2 separate regions of the Homo sapiens genome follow, and region 2 is linked to region 1. The links are contacts of gene promoters, found by promoter capture Hi-C in blood cells and fetal thymus (Javierre and others, 2016). All regions are on one chromosome and are shown on one strand. The core of a region is centred on a gene start or on the middle of the fragment in contact, and the rest is flanking DNA. Distances in the headings are between cores, read along the strand shown.

Region 1 (3,485 bases), core at 353-2,852:
TGCCAATGGACGAGGGAGGTGCACAGTTGGAACACTTAATCTGTTACCTTCTCTCCAGAGTCCTTGGAAGCTCCAAAGCTGGGGTCACTTTGGGTTGTCAAAAAGAAACTTAAGTAGACCTTTCATTCACAAAGACTTACTTCGATTTCCCAGTCTACATATTTGAAAACTAATTGTACTTCATACTGGTGGAAAAGAGACCAATTCTTAAAACAGGTAAATTTGTGACTGGGTAAGTGCTGTCCTCCCTGGTCCCTGAAGGAATCTTTCTCCCCAACCCTTCTGGGAGCCTCAAGGCTCTTCCCTCAATCCCCACTTTATTGTTTTTTGTTTGTTTGTGTTATTATTGTTGTTGTTGTTTTGGAGACGAAATCTTGCTCTGTCGCCCAGACTGGAGTGCAGTGGCCATGATCTTGGCGCACTTCAACCTCCACCTCCTGGGTTCAAGGGATCCTCCTGCCTCAGCCTCGGAGTGGCTGGGATTACAGGCCCGTTCCACCACGTCTGGCTAATTTTTTGTATTTGTATAGAGACAGGGTTTCACCAGCCTGTTGGCCAGGCTGGTCTCGAACTACTGACCTCAGGTGATCCACCTGCCTCAGCCTCCCAAAGTGCTGGGATTACAGACGTGAGCCACACACCCGGCCAATCCCCAATTCGTTAAATAAGAATCTGCAACTCAGTTTCCCTGAAGACTATTAAGAGGTCATGTTGATGCAGCCCAAAGATATGGTTTTGCCTATTTATTCTTCGGGAGAAACAAATACAACTTCTGAGAGCTCGCTTCAGAAAAATGCATGCATGGACACGCAAATATTATACATACAAGTTAGAGGTTTAGAGACCATTACAAGCTAGTTCACGAATCCATAGCAACGAAACAAAAAACAAGACAGAGAAGAAAGACATTTCAGGGGAAACATTTTCCTCGCTTGTTGGGGGTGGGGGTGGGGCAGAGTCTTTGGTCGTTTCCAACACCACACAGTCCACCACGATGCAGGGTGAGCTTTGAGAACATTCAGCAGGGCGGTGATCAATGGGGTGAGGGATTAACTCTGTTTGTCTCCTAAGCACTCTCCCTGCCCACCTCCCAGACCCCTCACTTGGGTGTGAAAAAAAGTGTGAGATGAAATCAGAGATCCCTAACTCCCCCAGTTCTCTCCAAGTCAAATGTCTTCTCGCCCTGGGCTTTTTGTTCCCTAAAATGAAACTTCGCCTCCCGCCACAGGATCTGGGGTGCTCCTGCTGCCTCCAGAGAAGAAGGGGGCGCTGCTCCGTCCGACCCTGCCTGCTGCAGGGACGTGCGGGGGTGCTCTTTCCCCTGCTCCTCGGGCACCTCCCGTCTCCCTCCGGGTCAGGGCAGGGTCCCCTATACCCGCTCCCTCCGGCCGGTGGGCCCCGCTCCCCGATCACGCGCGGCTCACCTGGCAGCCCCGGCGAGGCGGACATGCGCCCAGCGTGCCTGTGCAGCCTAGTTGGTCCCGGACCGCAGACCTGTCCCGGGGAGGCTGCGCACCGCCCCGCCCCTCCCACCCCTCCGAGGCCCAGCGAGCAAGTGCGTGTTCTCGGGTCCTCGCCCCGAGCAGCCTGGCCAGCAGCATCCCGCCTCGCCCACTTCCCAGTAGACACAGGGACAGCGGCTTCCACTCCCGGGACCTCTGGACATCCTCCATCCCGGTTTGGCGGGAAACTGACCCAGGAGAAAGTGTTTGCAGAGGTTCCAAAAAACCAGCCCGGCGGGAGGGTTGTTGCCCCAGGAGGGTTGTGGCCGCCTTGTCTTGGTCCAGAAATTTCACCACTCTCCTACAGCCCAGTGCCTCTTTTTTTTTTTTTTCTTTTGAGAAGGAGTCTCGCTCTGTCGCCCAGGCGTCCAGTGCCTCTTATTTAGCGTGGGATGGAGGCGACTTACTGAAGCGTTGTCATTTCCCTGTATCCAATTACAACCCTGCCCTCCAGCGCTTAGCAAGGTGGCTTAAAAATAGTTTCTATCCCTGCAAAGAGCGTTTGTCTGTATCTCCAGATCTAGGGAGTAGGTTGCCTTCTTGCTACATAACTTAGGATTCGCCTTTTCTCTTCTCTGAACCTCAGCCACATCGTCCAGTATACTAGCGCCTCCCGAACCGTTGAACTTCAAGATCTCTTCCAGCATCAAAGAGTTCACTGTATTAGCGAATGGGGGTGCTTGGAGAATGCCCCTCTTCGCTCTTCCATGGACGGGCATTGAATGTCTCTTCTGCACTTCCATGTTGATGGGCATCAAACACCATGTATAGCCCATCCTCTGGGAATGCCAGCCAGCAGGAGCAAGAATGTTAGGTTAGGTGTCCCACCAGGGCCCAGGTGGAAAGATTCCGCCCTGGCTGATGGTTGGGATAGCCCTAGTTAGGCATTTTTATTATCATGCTTATCATTTTGATTATTTGAATTCCAGCCTCTCCAGGAAAATATTTTGCATTAGGAGAAAAAATGTTCTCTAATTTTACTATGTTTAATCATTTTTTCAATTCTTCATCTGGAAATAGTTGACCCTGTTTTGTTCCCACCTATGCATTGATCAGACATTTGCTGTTTGATTATTCTGTGTCAAGCACCGTGGAGATATTGAAGAATAATACATAATCTTTGCTTCCAGGAGCTGATGTCTTATAGGAAAACAAGAAATAAATTAAAAACATGATTAGGGCTTGCCACTTGTAAATAAGGGGCTGGGAGGGGACTAAACCCAAATGAAGGCTTTCTGAAGTAAAAGACATCCCAGTGTTTTTCCATGGTGAGCAGGATTTCCAGCTAACGAGGAAATGACTTAAAGAGGTTATTTGAAAAACAAGTACTGGGTCCTAGAACTCTAGACATGGAAAGGACATTTAAAAATATCCAGTCCTGTAAAGTTAAAATTGTGCAGGTGCTATGGAAAAAAAAAAGTATAATGGTTCCTCTAAAAATTAAAAATAGAATTATGACACAAGCCAGCAATTCTGCTTCTGGGAATATACCCCAAAGAATTGAAAGCTGAGACTCAAACGGATACTTGCACACCCATGTTCATAGCAGCATTATTCACAATAGCCAAAATGTGGATGCAGCCCAAGTGCCTATCAATGGATGAAGAAAATGTGATGTATACATTCCATGGAACATTATTCAGTTTTAAAAATGAAGGAAATTCTGACACATACTGCAACATGGAGGAACCCTGAGGACATTATGCTAAACAAAAGAAGCCAGCCACAAAAGCACAAATACTGTACGATTCTGCTTATATGAGGTGCCTGAGTTGTCAAAGTTATGGAGACAGAAATTAGAATAATGGTTGCCAGGAATTGTGGGGAGAGGGAATGAGGAGCTATTGTTTAATGAGTATGAAATTCAATTTTGGTAGATGAAAAGAGTTCTGTGGATGGGTGGTGGGGTGGTTGCATAACAATATTGTTGCACAATAATAATGCCACTGAACCACACTTCAGTATGGTTAAGATAGTACATTT
Region 2 (3,123 bases), core at 332-2,831, 370 kb after region 1:
TACTATTTCGTAGTGACAGCCAGCTGCTATTTCCTACTCTGTGGTCACAAGCTGATTGTATCCGTGACCCTAGCCTCCCAACTTGCAAACATGTGCTCCTAGCCACAAGGAGACAGCGTGAGGGTGAGTGAGCAGAAACTCTCACCTCGCCTGGAAGAATACTTCATTGCGCATGCCCTCCCTTCACAGAAGAACAATTTTGGTTTGGTTTTTAGTTTCATGGGTTTTTAAAAATAAAATCAGCTCTGCTAATAAAAGATGACAAGGGATAAAAGAAATTAGGGGAAATCGTGTTGGGGGATCACGGCAGTCCCAACCCGCATTCTGCAGGCTGGGAGGGCTGAGTCATGCTGCTTTCCACATTCAAGTGAATCCACGATTCCAGCTCTGCAGATTTCATCCCTACAAAGAGAGGCGTGAGTGGACAGGAATGCAGGAATAAAAGTTAAACCCCGTGACAGTGCTGACTGTGGCCTCAGCATTGTGACAGAGCAGGAGAGAGCAGAGAGTGGGGGAGGGAGGGGAGGCCGAACAGCAGTGCAGAGGCAGGTGTCAATCAACTGAGGACGATTCTTCAGCAATTCACTCCCACCTCTAAAATGCCAACCGGTCCTCTAAGGAAAACCAACCCAGCTTCGAAACAAACAGAACAAAGAACAGGCAAGGATTAGTTCCTTAGCTGGGAAGATGATGATGATGATTATTATTTAATGTGGGATGGGAGAAGGGAGTGAGACTGTTTGCATCTTTCCATTATTAGGTCCAAAGCTCTTCTCAATCACTCATTCTTAATAGGGAAGCTGGATACCTGTTTCTTTCAAGTCTGAAGTCCTGCCTCCTTGAACTATGTTTATGTGATTTTTGACCCAATTTTTATTACAAAGTCCTTTTATAAGAAAACAAGTTTGGACTGAGTGCAGTGCCTCATGCTTGTAATCCCAGCATTTTGGGAAGCCGAGGGAGGAGCATCACTTGAGCCCAGGAGTTGGAGACCAGCCTGAGCAACATGGTAAAATCTGGTCTCTACAAAAATATGAAAAAAATTAGCCAGGCACGGGGTGCCATACACTGTAGTCCCAGCTACTTGGGAGGCTGAGGTGGGAGGATCGCCTGAGCCTGGGGAGGTCGAGGCTGCAGTGAGCCATGATCATGCCACTGCACTCTAGCCTGGGTGACAGAGTGACACCCTGTCTTAAAATAAAATAAAATAAAATAAAATACAAGTTTGAAGTATAATATAGCAGTATTTGTTACAGTGAAATTCTATATGATAAGTTTAGCCTTTTGGGCACTTAGAGATCTTTTTTAAGAAAGGAAAAGAAGCCAAGATAAAGAAATAGTTTGGAGTTGTAGGATAAATTATTTTAGCATAATAAATATTTGACCATGTGTCATATATATTGTTCAAGCCTAGTGATTCTTTGGCTCCATTTAGTAGAAAAAAAACTTTGAGAGAGAGATTCCATAGGTATATTCAAGTTTGTGTGTGTGTGTGTGTGTGTGTGTGTTCGTGTCTGTGTATGTGTGTGTGTAGGGAGGCAGAGGTTGGAAGCATGGAATATTCAGAAGCTAAAATATATCACTTTCAGGAAGGGTGCGAGTGGAAAAGGAAATAAGTTGAGGTTTCAACTTCTTTAATTGCAAGCATAGCTGAACTCTGATTTCAATTTAATCCAAAGAAATGTAATTAAAGGAGTACCTGACAGTAGCTTCAAGAATCCTATATTCAGTGTTTTGCAGTTTATCAGATGTAATAGTTGCTGCTGGATTGCACTTAAATGATGAAGAAGAGAAATCCTTTAGCAGCTCTTGATGCAGGTCTGCTTGCAGATAAAAACCATGGAAAAATAAATAATAGTGAACACAAATTTCCAGATATGATATTCTTTATGTATTTTCAATAAGTTTCAAAGAGCAAAGCATCAGCAAAAGACCTTGGCAATTATTTTAGCATCCAGTCATAGGAAACCCAGGGCTTGGTAATGACTGAAATAACAAGTTATCATCTTGTTAAGATTTCACTCTTTAAACTCAAATAGAATCATACCCACGTGGATTATGTAAGTCATTTAAACATAATGAATCTCAGTTTCCTCATTTGTGAAAGGAGGAGTAGAACTAGATGCCCCTGGAGTCCCTCTCAGCTCTGAGATTCAGTGAACCAAAGGTTCAGTGACTATTATTTTAGGCCCAAAGCATGAGATTACAAAGATAAACACAAACAGAATGAAAGTGAAACTAATGATTCCAGAGTTCGATGACCGATAAGCACCCTGCCTTCTTTTCTGTCTTTAACACAAAATATAGTGGGATTTTGACAGATTTTTTGTTAATTTGATCAATTCAGACTGTCAGTTCAAATATTTAAAATCTCACAGGCATTTGTAATTAGATACAAGTCATTGATTGAAGAAAGAGGATAGATGAAAACATCCCATGACAGCTTCTTAGGTCTAGTGCTATTTACACATTACCCCACGGGGAGCCAAGCTGAACAAGCCACTCTATCCTCAGGCTGAATCAAGGTGCCACCAATAAAAGTTTTCACTGAATTTAGACTGGTGGTTTGAGATTAAATAAAGACAGAATCCAAATATGTTTGGGAAATATAAAATGTTTTTTGATTATTTAGCTTTGGGAGCAGATAAGGAAACAAAAATACAACAAACAGATTTACTAAGCACTATTTTCTGTTTCAGTTAAGGTATTTGGGCCTTAATAGACAAATTATACCTAATAGTAATAATATTATTATTATAAACCTCTTATTATGTGCCAGGTATGATTCTAAATGGTCTCTCTCATGTAATATATTACATATCATCATATATTCTATTATATACTATGTAAGACAGGATAGTTACGTATAGATGTAGACACTCAATTCTTAACAATAGTTTTATGACATGGGTACAATGATCATCATCCCATTTGATAGATGGTAAAACTGAAACAAAAGTTAGCTACCTCAGCCAAAGTCAGACAGCTTCTAAATGGTCTTGCTGGAGTTGAAACTTGGCTCCAGAAGACTTGCTTTAACCATGATGGTATACTGCCTTAGCAGCTCAAGCTAAGATGAATCTTACACTGGAGAGATGAGCTGGATTTGAACAGAGCTTTGAG

What was found. The method cuts DNA at HindIII sites, captures the fragments that hold promoters and counts their contacts. A CHiCAGO score of 5 or more calls a contact.
Region 2: a fragment that was not itself captured here is called in contact with the fragment with the promoter of OXGR1 in region 1 in 1 of 17 cell types (monocytes); the score reaches 5.6 in monocytes.

Annotation. Positions count from the first base shown.
Region 1 is chr13:96,992,874-96,996,358 of GRCh38, forward strand. OXGR1 (oxoglutarate receptor 1) reads right to left here and starts at 1,603. Exons shown (of 4, transcript NM_001346194.2): 1 at 1,425-1,603. The HindIII fragment of the contact is 5,494 bases long and covers 1-3,485 here.
Region 2 is chr13:97,367,220-97,370,342 of GRCh38, forward strand. The region is part of intron 8 of MBNL2 (muscleblind like splicing regulator 2); the gene reads left to right. Among named protein-coding and RNA genes, the nearest start is that of RAP2A, 65 kb to the right of the region's middle. The HindIII fragment of the contact is 4,464 bases long and covers 1-3,123 here.